Linked DNA regions of Homo sapiens: region 1 is linked to region 2. The links are contacts of gene promoters, found by promoter capture Hi-C in human tissues and cell types (Jung and others, 2019). All regions are on one chromosome and are shown on one strand. Each heading gives the region's core, a stretch centred on a gene start or on the middle of the fragment in contact. The rest is flanking DNA. Distances are from core to core; before and after follow the strand shown.

The links. The method cuts DNA at HindIII sites, captures the fragments that hold promoters and counts their contacts. A contact is called where the count stands out against the background at its distance.
Region 1: a fragment that was not itself captured here is called in contact with the fragment with the promoter of C1orf146 in region 2 in 3 of the 25 tissues and cell types used here (adrenal gland, bladder and dorsolateral prefrontal cortex).

What each region holds. Positions count from the first base shown.
Region 1 is chr1:92,262,453-92,269,466 of GRCh38, reverse strand. GLMN (glomulin, FKBP associated protein) reads left to right here. Exons shown (of 19, transcript NM_053274.3): 10 at 1,332-1,362; 11 at 1,465-1,554; 12 at 2,726-2,767; 13 at 2,975-3,048; 14 at 4,829-4,913; 15 at 5,735-5,844; 16 at 6,541-6,604. Among named protein-coding and RNA genes, the nearest start is that of GLMN, 33 kb to the left of the region's middle. The HindIII fragment of the contact is 4,800 bases long and covers 1-4,319 here.
Region 2 is chr1:92,215,698-92,223,542 of GRCh38, reverse strand. C1orf146 (chromosome 1 open reading frame 146) reads right to left here and starts at 5,628. Exons shown (of 6, transcript NM_001012425.2): 1 at 5,495-5,628. The HindIII fragment of the contact is 16,370 bases long and covers 1-7,845 here.

The sequences.
Region 1 (7,014 bases), core at 670-3,169, 50 kb before region 2:
TTCTTCTCTTACTCCAAAAGTTGGTAAATTAAAACACCTCTACCCCACTGCATCCTCCTCCATCTTAAGGAAGGGCAGTCAATAAAAGAAGTTCTTCCGTATTTTTCCTTCATGGACACAGTCTGTGAATTGCATCAAAAGGAAGGAGGTGTCTTGACTTCCACCTTTTATAATTTAGATTATTGACAGTGATGTCATTCAATTACAACTTTTCTCATTTGAGGTGCTAAGCAGCAGGACTTTCTATTTAAAAAAAAAAAAAAAAAGCCAGGCACGGTGGCTCACGCCTATAATCCCAGCACTTTGGGAGACCAAGGCGAGAGGATTGCTTGACCCCAGGAGTTCGAAACCAGTCTCTCTCTCTACAAAAAATAGAAAAAATTAGCCAGGAGTGGTGGCGCCTGCCCGTTGTCCCAGCTACTTGGGAGGTTGAGGTGAAAGAATCACCTGTGCCTGGGAGGTCTGGGCTGCAGTGAGCAGAGATCATGCCACTGCAGTCCAGCCTGGGCAACAGAGTAAGACCCTGTCGCAAAAGAAAAAAAAAAAAAAAAGGAAATTACAGAGTAACAGGTATACATAATTTCTAGACAGAAATTAAAGAATTTCACAGAACTATATGCTTTGTTTTCTTTCACTATAACATGTAACATGTTTAAATTATCCCCTGAGATCAGTTAGGGCTTTGCAATTATCCTCTATGAACACTAGTGACAGTTTATCAGTCCCATCTCTTACCAGGTGAAGGAAGATTTGTAACATGGCAATGTCCAAAGCTTCAGCATACAAGGCAGGAATTTCCAAGGGTCTCCTGGCACAAGTAGTTACTAATTCTGTAAATTTGCTGTATTATGTATGTTTTAATGATTTTATATTCATTACATTTAGTTTCTGTTATTCATACAGTGATAATATGTATTGTTTTGAATCTAAGTCCTAAATTCTTGAGATTTCCAAACTGCAGAGTCATTGAGTCTTTTTTTGAATAAAAAGAATTGGAAAGATTTTACAGAATAATCAACTGGAATATATAGCATTGGTTATATCAGGTTTAGTTAGTTTCTTAGCACTTGCTGTTGAAGATCTATTGTTTTGAAGTTAGGAAATAATCCCTGAGTAGATTTATTTTGGTCAGATTTAGTGGCCTTAGCCAAACCGAAAGACAGATCAAAGATGGATTAAAACTTTTGATCAAGTTCTTCAACAGAATTTCTCCTTAATGATATGCATTTTAAAAGTGTTAAAATTTCAGTTTTTGCTGTATTTTTCATAAGATGAAGTATCATTCTAAAATAGTTTACAAATTCATGATAAATTTTAATATTATTTTTCAGAACAGAAGAGTCTGTTATCTCCAAAGGATTGGTAAGATGTTTGTTCCCATTATAACTTAAATACATAGTTATGTCAACAAATAACAGCTGTTGACTTCACTATATATGTATCTGCATATATTTTAATCTGTAGGAGCTGCTGGAGAATAGTTTATTGAGAATAGAAGACAATAGTCTACTTTACCAGTACTTAGAAATCAAGAGTTTTCTTACTGTACCTCAGGTAAATAAAATATGTATTCTAATATTGAAAATAGCCCTTTGCCTGTTCTGAACTTAAAGTAAGGTCTTTTCTGATTCCTTTCCCACTCTTTTCTCTGCAACCTTTGAAAACTCTGGTGTAATGCTGTCCAGTAGAACTTTGACAATATGAAAGCCACTAGCCAAACTGAACACTTGAAATGTGACTAAGGAACTATTTTTTTTTTTTTTGAGGTGTAGTCTTGCTGTGTCGCCCAGGTTGGAGTGCAGTGGTGCTATCTCAGCTCACTGCAAGCTCCACCTCCTGGGTTCATTCCATTCTCCTGCCTCAGCCTCCCGAGTAGCTGGGACTACAGGCGCCCGCCACCACACCCAGCTAATATTTTTGTATTTATAGTAGAGACGGAGTTTCACTGTGTTAGCCAGGATGGTCTCGATCTCCTGACTTCGTGATCAGCCTGCCTCAGCCCCCCAAAGTGCTGGGATTACAGGTGTGAGCCACCACACCCAGCCGGAACTAAGTTTCAAATTTAAATTTTAATTTATTTAAACACGAATAGCTATTAGAGGCCACCATTATTGATAGCACAGCATCCAGTAGAAAAGCATAACTTTCTTCTTTTAACACTTTATTTCTGTAGGGATCTTGGAAAATGAAGCTTCTTTATGTTTCTCATAACTCAAGTTCTCAGGACTCCATCTAAGGCATCCACTGACTCATTACCAGAAAGACTAATACACATTGTGTTTTTCCCTCCTATGGTTTATTTTGCCCAATCCTCTTTGTTAGTTATGATATCCAAGGAAATCCTTAGATTTCAGTGTGGGAACTGGTTTTCCTAATATTTAAATAGAAAAACATGGTTTTTGTTAACATATTGTTTGATTGTTTTTAATTAATAAATTATATTTCTGTAGATTTGATTTCATTTTCTTGCCACTGTAGACATAATTGAAAATTATCGTTTGCTTTTAAAAGTACACTGTGTGACACTCTACTCAATATCACTTAAAAAATCAATTGTAGTTAGCTTTCTGGAATGGAAGGCTTAGGGAAAAATTAATTTACTTCACTTTTAAATCTCCTACCCTCACTTCTCTGAATTTTTAGTATCCTATTGATGTATTATAGTTGTTTGTTTGCAGTCAGTATAATCTGTTTACATCTGAATTTTACATTTTTTTATTTCCAGGGCTTAGTGAAAGTAATGACACTTTGCCCCATTGAGACACTGGTATGTAAATATTTGGTGACTAAAGAATAATGAGTTACAGTGAGAAAATTTGACAAATAATTTAATTTTCTTTTTAAAAATTTTAATTTGTGAAATTTTTATTTAGGAGGTACAAGTGTGGATGTATTACATGCATAAAATGGATAGTGATGAAGTCTGGGTAAGCTTTATTCATTTTATATAATAATATTGTTTGTTCCATTTTAGAGGAAAAAGAGTTTAGCTATGCTTCAGCTGTATATTAACAAGTTGGATTCACAAGGCAAATATACATTATTTAGGTATGTATCAAGCATGGCTAATTGCTAAGTGTGTGGTTGATTAAAAGTCATGTTAATGCCATGTAATTGTTTTAGGGCATAGTATGTCGGTATGTTTTACATGTAATTCAACTCTGGTTGGAACCCATATTATAAATTCTCAGTGATGGCTAGAGAAAGGGTTAATCAAATATTTCAGACATACTATATATATGTCTATATTTTGTATGACTAATAGTATATATTGCAGTTCAATCAATTGGAATACTCTAAATTTGAAATAGACTTAAAAATAATTAAACTGAGATTGATGATGCTCCTGCTGGAACTTTATGTATGTCACTAATCTCCATTACTCACAGTTCAAATTGATGGCTCTGGAATTACAACTTTGATAGGCTATGCACTATGTTAATAGTAAGAGCTTACTAATACTGCTCTTTGAGGTGGATAAGATTCTAGCAACTCTCTAAGTTAAAGATTGGTAAACTTTCTAATTAATTTTCTGTGAAGAGCCAAATAGTAAATATAGGTTTTATGGGCTATACAGTCTCTGTTGCAAGTGCTCAACTTTGACTTTGTATTGGGGATGGGTGTGTTCCAGTAAAACTTTATTGATAAAATTGGGCATCAGGCTGGATTTGCTAAAATGTCTTACCTGGGATTGGCCAATATTAGTACTGTTCTTTTTTGGCGGGTGCAGCAGTGTGATCATGGCTCACTGCAGCCTTCACCCTTGGCCCCCCAGCTTCAGGTGATCCTCCCGCTTCAGCCTCCCAGGTAGCTGGGACTACAGGTGCATGCCATCATGCCCAGCTAATTTTTTTGTGGAGATGGGGTTTTGCCATGTTGCCCAGGCTGGTCTCAAACTCCTGGGCTCAAGCGATTCACCCACCTCAGCCTCCCAAAGTGTTGAGATGACACGCATGAGCCATCATGCCCAGCCAACACTCTTGATTCTATCTTTTCTTGTTTTCTATTGATAGTAAGAGCAAGTTTATGAAATCTCAATTCTTAGGTATTATACCGGCTTTCCTGTTCTGTTCTATGTGTATCTCTACCAATAAATCCCCTTTTTTTCTTAAGCTAGTCATATCTAGTTTTTTTTTTTTTTTTGCAATTAAGCTACTCTAGCACTGGACTACTTTCACAGGAAATAATTTGGGGATTTTTTAGACCATTATGTTAGTGCCCTTTCTTGCCATGTTAAATTATTGTAACTATGTTCATAAAAATATTCAAATTTTGGTTTGATAGAAATGGCTTGTTGGAAGATCCAGTTATAAATAAGTATTTACCGGCCGGGTGTGGTGGCTCATGCCTGTAATCCCAGCACTTTGGGAGGCTGAGGCAGGCGGATCACGAGGTCAGGAGTTTGAGACAAGCCTGGCCAACATGGTGAAACCCTGTTTCTACTACAAATACAAAAAATTAGCCAGGCACGGTGGCGGGCGCCTGTAATCACAGCTACTCAGGAGGCTGAGGCAGGAGAATCGCTTGAACCCGGGAGGCGGAGGTTGCAGTGAGCCAAAATTGTGCCACTGCACTCCAGCCTGGGCGACAGGGCGAGACTCTGTCTAAAAAAGTAAAATAAAATAAATAAGAATTTACCATTTAGTGAGAGCAATAACTATTACAGGTGACTTTGTAATTGGTTGATGACCTTGCTAATTACCATTACTGTGGGGTTTTTATTCCTAGAAGTAACACATGGCCTCTTTGAATTTGTAAAACTTTTATCACCATTTAATTCTAATGCTGTCCAGGATAATTTCACATCTATTGTAATTTTGCTTTCAAGGTGCTTATTGAATACAAGTAATCACTCAGGTGTGGAGGCTTTTATTATTCAAAATATCAAAAATCAAATTGACATGTCATTAAAGGTAAGAACATAGCCAAAGTGTCAATTACCAATTTATTTCGTAGGGTATATTTATTCATATGTAGAATACATTAATGTGAGTTATTGCTCTATCTCTAGTATTACTATTACTTAAATATTATTAAGGCATATTTTTTCCCCTATTTCTACTATGTTTTAAAAACTCTGAATTTGGAAATTTAGTTAACTATAAGTTTAAATTGTATTCTTTGAGGTTTTGGTTTTTGTTTTTGTTTTTTTTGAGACAGGGTTTCACGCCTGTCACCCAGCTTGGAGTGCAGTGGCATGATCTCAGCTCACTGCAGCCTCCACCTCCTGGGCTCAAGCAGTTCTCCCAACTCAGCCTCCCGAGTAATTGGGACTACAGGTGTCCACCAGTGCGCCTGGCTGAATTTTGATTTTGTAGAGATGGAGTTTCACTGTGTTGCCCAGGCTCGTCTTGAACTCCTGATCTCAAGTGATCCACCCACCTTGGCCTCCCAAAATGCTGGGATTACAGGTGTGAGTCATCACTCTGGGCCTCTTTGAGCTGATATTGTGGCTTATTTTTGCTTTGTTATATGCTTCTCAAAAATGAATGGAAACTTAAGTCTCTTCTGTTTCTGAGTGCTCAGTAATTCTAAATGGAAAACAGAGTGACCAGTGTTCTCAAACTGGCAGGGTTCGTTCCTGGTGTCTGGAAAGTGAATGAAAGTACGGAAATTAAAGTTAAAAACTGTATTTTAAATGTGCAATTCTTCATTTTTGTAGTGTCAAGGTATTAGAAAAACACATGAATTACATGAATTATAAAGCTTTCTCAATTTTTCGTTTGCTTTTCAGAGAACACGTAACAACAAATGGTTTACAGGACCACAGTTGATTTCCCTTCTTGATTTGGTACTTTTTCTCCCAGAGGGTGCAGAAACAGATTTACTGCAAAACTCAGATAGGTGAGGTGACCATTACCAAAGTTCACATAGTAAATTCAGAATAAAATGTGAAACATCTGCTTAGGGAACCTAAAGTAATAAAATGTCTTTTCCTGTGATTTTATGATCTATGGCTAATTCATTAAGTTACATAAAGATTTTTCATATTTAAGTGATTTGATAATGTGTAGAAACAAAATTAAAACCTCCTCTTTCTAGATGAATGACCAGCACTATGATTTGATAGCTTTTATGTACCCAGCATTCCATAGAAATTTGCAATGACAGCACTTGTGACTTAAAACTAAAAATCTGTGTATGTAATTTATGTGTTTAGGTTTTGTTGTTTTATTGTTTTCCAGGTCATTTTTTTTTTCATATAGAACATATAATTTCAGTTTCAGTATACTGGAATGGATATTGAGAAATGGTTTAAAGCATTTAAAAAGTAATCTTAAAATTCAGAAAGCAAGAGATGATGCTCTCAAATATTAAAGATAACAAGGCTTTCTTTAAACAAGGATGATAATTTTCACAATTGTATGATTTAAACAAATGGAAAACAGTGATAAGTTATTACTACTCAAAAAGATATTAATGGAAATAGTTTCTATTGGCAAACCTAATTATAAAAATATGACCAAAGTTTTAGCTTATTGAGATTGCTGTTGACTATATAAAACCATACTGTAAGTAACATATATTTTTAATTAACAGGATTATGGCTTCATTAAATTTATTGAGGTATTTGGTTATCAAAGATAATGAAAATGACAATCAAGTAAGTGAAGTATTTGAAAAGAAACTGTGAGTATATTCAAAAGGCATAAGGAATGTTTCAGATATTCAGTACCTAAAGCCAATATTTAATATCTTACCCAGATATAAAGGCCGGGAAGAGTGCCAACAATTATTCTGAAACCTGAAGTTAATTCCCAGGAGCATTTACCACCCCACATCCAGCTTTCCTTTCCCTTTCCATTTCCTATTGTACGTCTGCTTTCTTGCTGAAAGCACTTAGTCCTGTTGGGTGGATAAGTTGCAGGTCCTAAGTCAACTAACCTTGTGGAGCTCAACGTACATATGGTGTCTTGTTCAGTTTCCTCCACCTATAGCTCATGAGCTGTATAAAATCATCTGATATTTTAATATTGCCTCATCAGACATGACAAATTGAAGCATTTTCAGCAC
Region 2 (7,845 bases), core at 4,379-6,878:
ACAAAACAAAAACAAAAACAAAAAGACACTCAAGGCTCAATAGTAAAAAACCAAACAACCCAATTAAAGATTTAAGCAGGTTATTCACCAAAGAAGATATATAAGTGGCAAATAAGGACATAAAAAGATAGTCAACATTATTATTAGGGAAATGCAAATTAAAGCTACAAGATACCACTACATACCTATTATAATGGCTAAAATTTAACAAACTAACAGTATCAAGTGTTGGTGAGGATGTGAGGAACTAGAACTCTCATACACTACTAATTGGAAAGTATATGGTACAAGCACTTGGAAAATAGTTTGACATTTTCTTAAAAAGTTAATCATATACTTACCATGATATCCAGCCATTTTACTCCTAGGTAATTTACCAAAGAAAATAGAAAGCATACATCTATACAAGGATTTACACATGAATGATTTATTTGTAGTAACCAAAGACTAGAAACAACCCAAATGCCCCCCAACAGGTGAATGGACATTGTAATATATTCATACAATGGCGTATTACTCAGCAACAAAAAGGAATGAACTATTGATACACATAACCCGAGTCACTCTAAAAAATTATGAAGGAAAGATGCCAACCCCCGCCCCCAAAAGCATAGCACATATTGTATAGTTTATTTTATATAAGAAATACAAACGATAGGCCAGGCGCCGTGGCTCACACCTGTAATCCCAGCACTTTGGGAGGCCGAGGTGGGCGGATCACAAGGTCAGGAGATTAAGACCATCCTGGCTAACATGGTGAAACCCCATCTCTACTAAAAATACAAAAAATTAGCCGGGCGTGGTGGCAGGCGCCTGTAGTCCCAGCTACTCGGGAGGCTGAAGCAGGAGAATGGCATGAACCCGGGAGGCAGAGCTTGCAGTGAGCCAAGATGGCGCCACTGCACTCCAGCCTGGGCAACAGAGCAAGACTCCGTCTCAAAAAAAAAAAAAGAAAAAAGAAAAAAGAAATACAAACTATAGTGACAAAAAAAAAAAAAAAAAAAAAACCGAAGAAGGGATAATGGGAAAAAAAGTGGGATTACAGAAGGGAAGGAGGAAACCTTTGGGATGGGTATATTCACTATATTGATTGTAGTAATTGTTTCACAGGTGTATAAATGTGTCAAAACATCACAGCATACATATGTTATACATGCATGTTATATATGTTATATATACATGCATGTTACATTATATATACACATGCATGTTGTATATGTTATATATACATGCATATGTTATACTGCATATAAATTATACAATATAGACACACATGCACACAAATGCCTGTATTTATTTTTTGAGACGGAATCTCACTCTGTCACTATGGCTGGAGTGCAGTGGCATGATCTTGGCTCACAGCAGCCTCCGCCACCCAGGTTCAAGTGGTTCTCGTGCCTCAGCCTCCCAAGTAGCTGGGACCACAGGTGTGCGCCACCACGCCTGGCTGATTTTTTTTGTATTTTTAGTTAAGATGGGGTTTCGCCACATTGGCCAGGATGGTCACTCCTGACCTCAGGTGATCTGCCCACCTTAGACTCCCAAAGTGCTGGGATTACAGGTGTGAGTCACCACACCCAGCCATCTTACAGGTTTTTAAATAGCTCTGAAAATATTCAATAATGATAAGTGTGTCATTTTAAAATTAGCAAATTCTGTTGTGTCAGAAGAGAAGTACAGGAGTCCAACACCAGGGCTACTTAAAATATTTCCTATGGTGAGATTCTGGTATCTGCAGCAAATCTGGCTACTCCAATGCCAATTGCTTACTATTGCTGCTATGGAAACTAAAATTAATGCCAGGCAGTTGAAATCAAGCAAAGAAAGCAAAACTAATCCCTTGTTATGCATAGTGAAAAATAACCTCTTTGAAACACTTTGATATTCACTGAAAAAGGTCCCAGAAGTTACCACATCCCAATTATTTTCCAAAAGGAAAAATATCTTCAACTTTTAGATAAAATAATCTGCACTGCTTATAAAGCTAGAAAAATACCACCTTTGCTCTTACAGCATGTTGTTTCAGTGGTAAAAATTTCTTTTTAAATTTCAACTTTTATTTTAGATTCAGGGGGTATATGTGCAGGTTTGTTTCATGGGTATATTGTGTGATGTTGAGGTTTGTGGTACAAATGATCCTGTAACCCAGGTAGTGAGCACAGTACCCAAAAGGTAGTTTTTCAGCCCTTATCCTCCTTCCTCCCTCTCCCCTCTAGTAGTCCCCATTGTCTATTGTTTGTATCTTTATGTCCATATGTACTCAATGGTTAGCTCCCACTTATAAGTGAGAGCATGTGGCATTTGGTTTTCTGTTCATGCACTAATTCACTTAGGATAATGGCCTCCAGCTGCATCCGTGTTGCTGTAAAGGACATGATTTCTTTCTTTTCATGGCTGCATAGTATTCTATGATGTATATGTTCATTTTCTTTATCCAAGTCATGATTTAATTTAATTCCTGCTTTTTCCATGAATTAAAAATATTCTTTGTCTCTGAGGCATCTTATATATTCTGCAAGCATCTATAAAACAGTAACAGGCTAGCTTATTAGCTTGCAAGTAGGATAAGACTTTTCACAGTTCTTGGCAGGCATTATCTACTAAAGTTGAAGATACTCGTAACCTGTAACTCTGCAACTCTACTCCTAAATGTATGCTCAACAGAAATGCATGTGATCTGTACTAAGAGACTTATACAAGAATGCTCATAACAGCATTTTTAAAAACTTCATTCTTCATGCTTTTGTTTAAAGTCTCTTTTTAATCCTACCTCTCAAGGCTAGAATGGTCCATAGTTAGAATTGGCGGTCACAGTATGAACTCATTGTTAATATAGATACAGAAGAATACACACAGAAATATTTTATAGATACAGTCATGCATTGCATATTAACTGTTCAGTCAACAATGGACTTCATATATGACTGGTGGTGCCACAAGATGATAATACTGTATTTTTACTTTTTTTACATTTAGATATGTTTAGATATGCAGGTTGCCTACAGTATTCAGTACATTAACATACTATACATATTTGTAGCCCAGGAGCAATAGGCTATACCATATAGCCTAGATGTCTAGTAGACTACACCATCTAAGTTTGTGTAATTACACTCTATGATGTTCTCACAATGACAAAATCACCTAATGATGCATTTCTCAGAACACATCCCCATCATTAAGCAATGCATGACTGTATGTGTATATACCCAGATTAGTACACACACATCTATTTCTTTACTCTGTTAGCTGAAAGGGCCTAAAACAAACGACACCCTAGCACCTGGGTGCTAGCAACAAGTACACCTAGCACCCAGATTTTGGTTTCTAAATAGCATTCTCCAAAAAAGGAACCAGGGCTCCTTGGAGAAATGGTCGATTCTAGGACTGGGACAGGAAACATACAAGATGAGTCCAGAGTAGTGCCAAAAAGAAAGTACTTAAAAACAAAAACAAACAAACAAAAAAACCCCACACAGATGGCATTGATGGGGCATGTCATAAGAGCACAGGAACCAACTGAAAGAGCTCCCAATGGCTAAAGCTGGAACAATTTGAGCAAAATAAAATAGCATTATAATCCAAAGTATAAAGTGAATATCCATGAGTCTATACTGATATAAAGGTTTGAACAAACCAATAAATGGAGAAGAGACAAATCTGTGCAGAATAATTCCAAAAAATTTATGTATATATACTCCAACCTTAAGAACAGGAGCATGGAGCTGGGCACAGTGGCACACACCTATAATTCAAGCTACTCGGGAGACTGAAGCAGGAGGATTGCTTAAGGCCAAGAGTTTGAGGCTGCAGTGCATTATGTTTGCACCTGTAAATAACAACTGTACTCCAGCCTGGGCAACATAGCAAGACCCTGTCTCTAAAAATATTAAACAGTGGGGGTGGGGAATATAACTCCCCATTCCTTAGGTGTGGCTGCACACCCAGGAGGTGGAGGTTGCAGTGACCTGAGATCCCATTCCTGCACTCCAGCGTGGGTGATAGAGCGAGACTCTGTCTTAAAAAAAAAAAAAAAAAAAAAAAAAGAAAGAGAAAGTCACTTTCAGTGATGGTAAGTTAGTATCTCCCAAGGTGATTTCATTCTACTTTTCAACAACTTTAATAATTAGAAAGTTCTTCCTGCTGAGTTGAAACCAGCTGCTCTCTAATTTCCTCATTTATTGCATGAATGAATGAATGAGAAGTTAACTAGCTCCATGAGAGCAGGGACACATTCTGATTCTGTTTTACCTTACTCAGCACCTGGCACTCAGTAGACACTCAAAGATTTGTGAATGAGTAAATGGTGAGTTGGCTGGGGGAAGGGCTTCAACTTCTATAACCCCCCCTACACATACTTACTAATACACCCACATAGCTATGAATACATATATGCAAAGGTTACAAGAACTTTTTGGAGTAGTTACTGGTATGTATGTGGATATGTATGTTTGTGCCTATCAGTTAGTAATCCATAAATGTTCATTTAAATCTTTACACCCTTATACATAGGTTTTAAAAACAATTTAACTAAAGCTAAGAGAAGTAAAGTAATCACGTGCACAATAAGTGAGAAAGGAGTGGGGTCAGTCGTGTCCCAAGTCCCTGTTAAAGGTGAGGAATGAATCAGAAACCTGGGGCTGGGGCAGTGCCTTCTCAGCATTTCTGGGGAAAAGCTCCTCGACCAGCAGCCAAGCAAGGACTGTGTGGCTTTGGGCAAATCACGTCACCTCTGGTTAGGCTGCATCCTCACCTGAAAACAAAAAGCTTCTAAACGGGAGGTGAACGCTGAGCGTGCAGGGACAGAGGGGAGGGGCAGGCGCGGGGGACGGGACCGGGGGACCAGAAGGTGGAGGAGGGACAGTCACTAATGGGCACCTGGGGGACGACAGAATCTGGACAACAAACTCCCGTGACACGAGTTTAACCTATGTAACACACCTGCACACGGACTCCTGAACCTAACATAAAAGTTAAATTAAAAATAAAAACAAAAAGCGTGGGCCCAGTGGCCTCTTAAACCTTTGCCAGTTCCAAGGCCCTGGTATTCTGGGCTTTTGTTGCTACTGTTTTGTTTTTTCCAAGCTCTGGAGTGTTTGCAAATTTAAGTTTAACACTGCCCCATCATCTCCAGCAAGTCACTTTCCCTGCTCAGTCTCCTCACGGGTCCAGTGAGGCGCCGGCCTACAAGGATCTTCACGGTCTCTTCCATTCTTTACTTTTCGGAGTGACCAACAAAGCCTAAAGCAAATAAAATTTACACTCGCAGGTGGGTGACGGACTTCTGACAGGGAAAACCCCGAGGGAGCCCTTTCCACACCGATTCTCAAGGGGAAAATAGGGTGGGCAGGATCTCCTCCCCTCACCCGCCAAAGCCCTGAGGTAAAGCTCTGAGCTCGGCAAGTCAGAGAGCACTACGCCGGCGAAGAACGAAGAAAGAAAAACGCGAAGAGACAGGTCTGCCGAGGCCTCATCCCCAGCGCTGCAAACCCACCTGCTCACCAGGTCCTCAGAGACCGCTCAGGGTTTCCCAAACTTCCAGAACGTTCCGTGAGCAGTGAGAGGCGCCGCCGGTAGGGCAGAGCGCCCAGGGTGCCTGGGGCAGGGTTCTGCAGTCGCTGGGCTTCTGCGCAACCGCAGACCCCGCAAACCTTTTCCGCGCTTCTGGCTCCCTAGAGCGAGGTTTGCAGGAAGCCGGAAGTGGTTAAGAAGATACAAGATTTGTAGGCCTGGCGCGGTGGCTCATGCCACTAATCCCAGCACTTTGGGAGGCCGAGGTGGGCGGATCACGAGGTCAGAAGTTTGAGACCAGCGTACCAACATGGTGAAACCCCGTCTCTACTAAAAATGCAAAAATTAGCTGGGCATGGAGGCGCGCACCTGTAATCCCAGCTACTCGAGAGGCTGGGGCAGGAGAATCGCTTGAACCCAGGAGGCGGAGGTTGCAGTGAGCGAGATCGCACCACTGCACTCCAGCCTGGGTGACAGGGCAAGACTCCGTCTCAAAAAAAAAAAAAAAAAAAAAACAAGATTTTTGCGTGTTAGACTCAGTTGTCCGGAATTGATTTTCACAGTTTTCTAAAATTCAGGCTCAATTCTTAGATTTCTGTCATTTGCAACATAAAATCAAAGTGGCCTTCAGTTTATCCAAATTATGAAAAAGGTAGATTTTCATGAGCAGCTGTCAAAAGGACATACAGGGGCCTGTGTGTTTGCTTTTTAGGACCCCATTATGTTCAGACCTAATTGAAGCTCAGCAATTTATTAAGTGTCACAATCATAAAAATGTAAAAAGACAAAGACCACTACTTGCCTTGAGCCTAATGGTTAGGATACAAAACTATGTGCCTTACTTTGTAAAACAGGTATTCCTGTAGAAAGAAAGGTGCTCCAGGAAAAATCCTTTGGAGCACACTTGTGATGTGCTGTTAATTTTTCCCTGTGATAACCATTTTGTATGTTTGGCATTTTGTATAACTGATATTAAAATTAGGTGCACTCTTGCTGCCTCATTTGGGCAGTTTGTTAAGCCACCACACCTGGCCTCTTGTTTATAAATTACCTGGTCTAAGGTATTTTGTTATCGTGGCCATAATGGACTAAGACAATTCCTCCTCTCTTCAAATCTCCAGAACTTATTCCTCATCTTCATTTTCGGCTGAAGTGAAATAGTTACTGCTAATATTTCATAAAGATTTATGATTTTAATAGTATTTAGTATTTAATATTAAATACTATTCAAATGAGATAAATAAAAGCATCCAGAAACGAAGTTCCACAGATGTCCACCTACCAATCTACCAACATCTATATGCCAGATTCTGCTTTCTTTCCAACTATAGTAGGTGAACTGTATAATCCTATGTAAGGCCAGCCCTCAAATGGACAACAGAGCCCATCTCTTCTTGCTTACCCAAGAATATAGCTCCACCGGCCAGTCGCGGTGGCTCACGCCTGTAATCCCAGCCCTTTGGGAGGCTGAGGCAGGTGAATCACAAGGTCAGGAGATCAAGATCAGCCTGGCCAATATGGCAAAACCTCATCTCTACTAAAAATACAAAAAATTAGCCAGGTGTGGTGGTGCACACCTGTAGTCCCAGCTACTTGGGAGGCTGAGGCAGGAGAATTGCTTGAACCTGGGAGGCAGAGGTTGTAGTGAGCCAAGATCATGCCACTGCACTCCAGCCTGAACAACAGAGCAAAACTGTCTCAAAAAAAAAAAAATATATATATATATATATATATATATATATCCACCAATTATTTCCTGACTCTTACAATCTTCAATTTTCTCCTCTCCACTGAATAGTCTCAATAGCAAATAAATATGCCATTATTTCTCTCATCTTAAAATCTCTTAATCTCCTCTCCCACACCAGCTAACAATCCATTTCTCTGCTCTCTTTACAGAAAAACTCAAAAGGATTGTCTATAATTTCTGTTGCTAATGCCCTTTTTTCCCATTCTTTATCAAATTTATTCCAATCAGACTTTTTCATTTCCACCATACCACAGAAATTGCTCATGTCAAAGTCATTGGTAAATCCAGCAAACAGCTGTCAATACTAATTTTACTTGGTCAATCAGCAGTACTTGTTACAGTTGATCATTCCCTCCTCCTGGAAAAACTTTCTTTCCTTGGCTTCCCCATATCATGCTCTCATGGTTTCCCTCCAGCCTCACTGGCCATTTATCAGCATCCTTATTGGTTCTTCCTCAAAACCCAACCTTTTAATCTTGCTTGGAGTGCCGCAAGCTCAGTCCTTGGACCTCTTTTCTTCTCTGGGTATATTTGTTACTTTGGTGTCCTCCTTAACTCATAGTGTTAGATATCATCCATGTGCT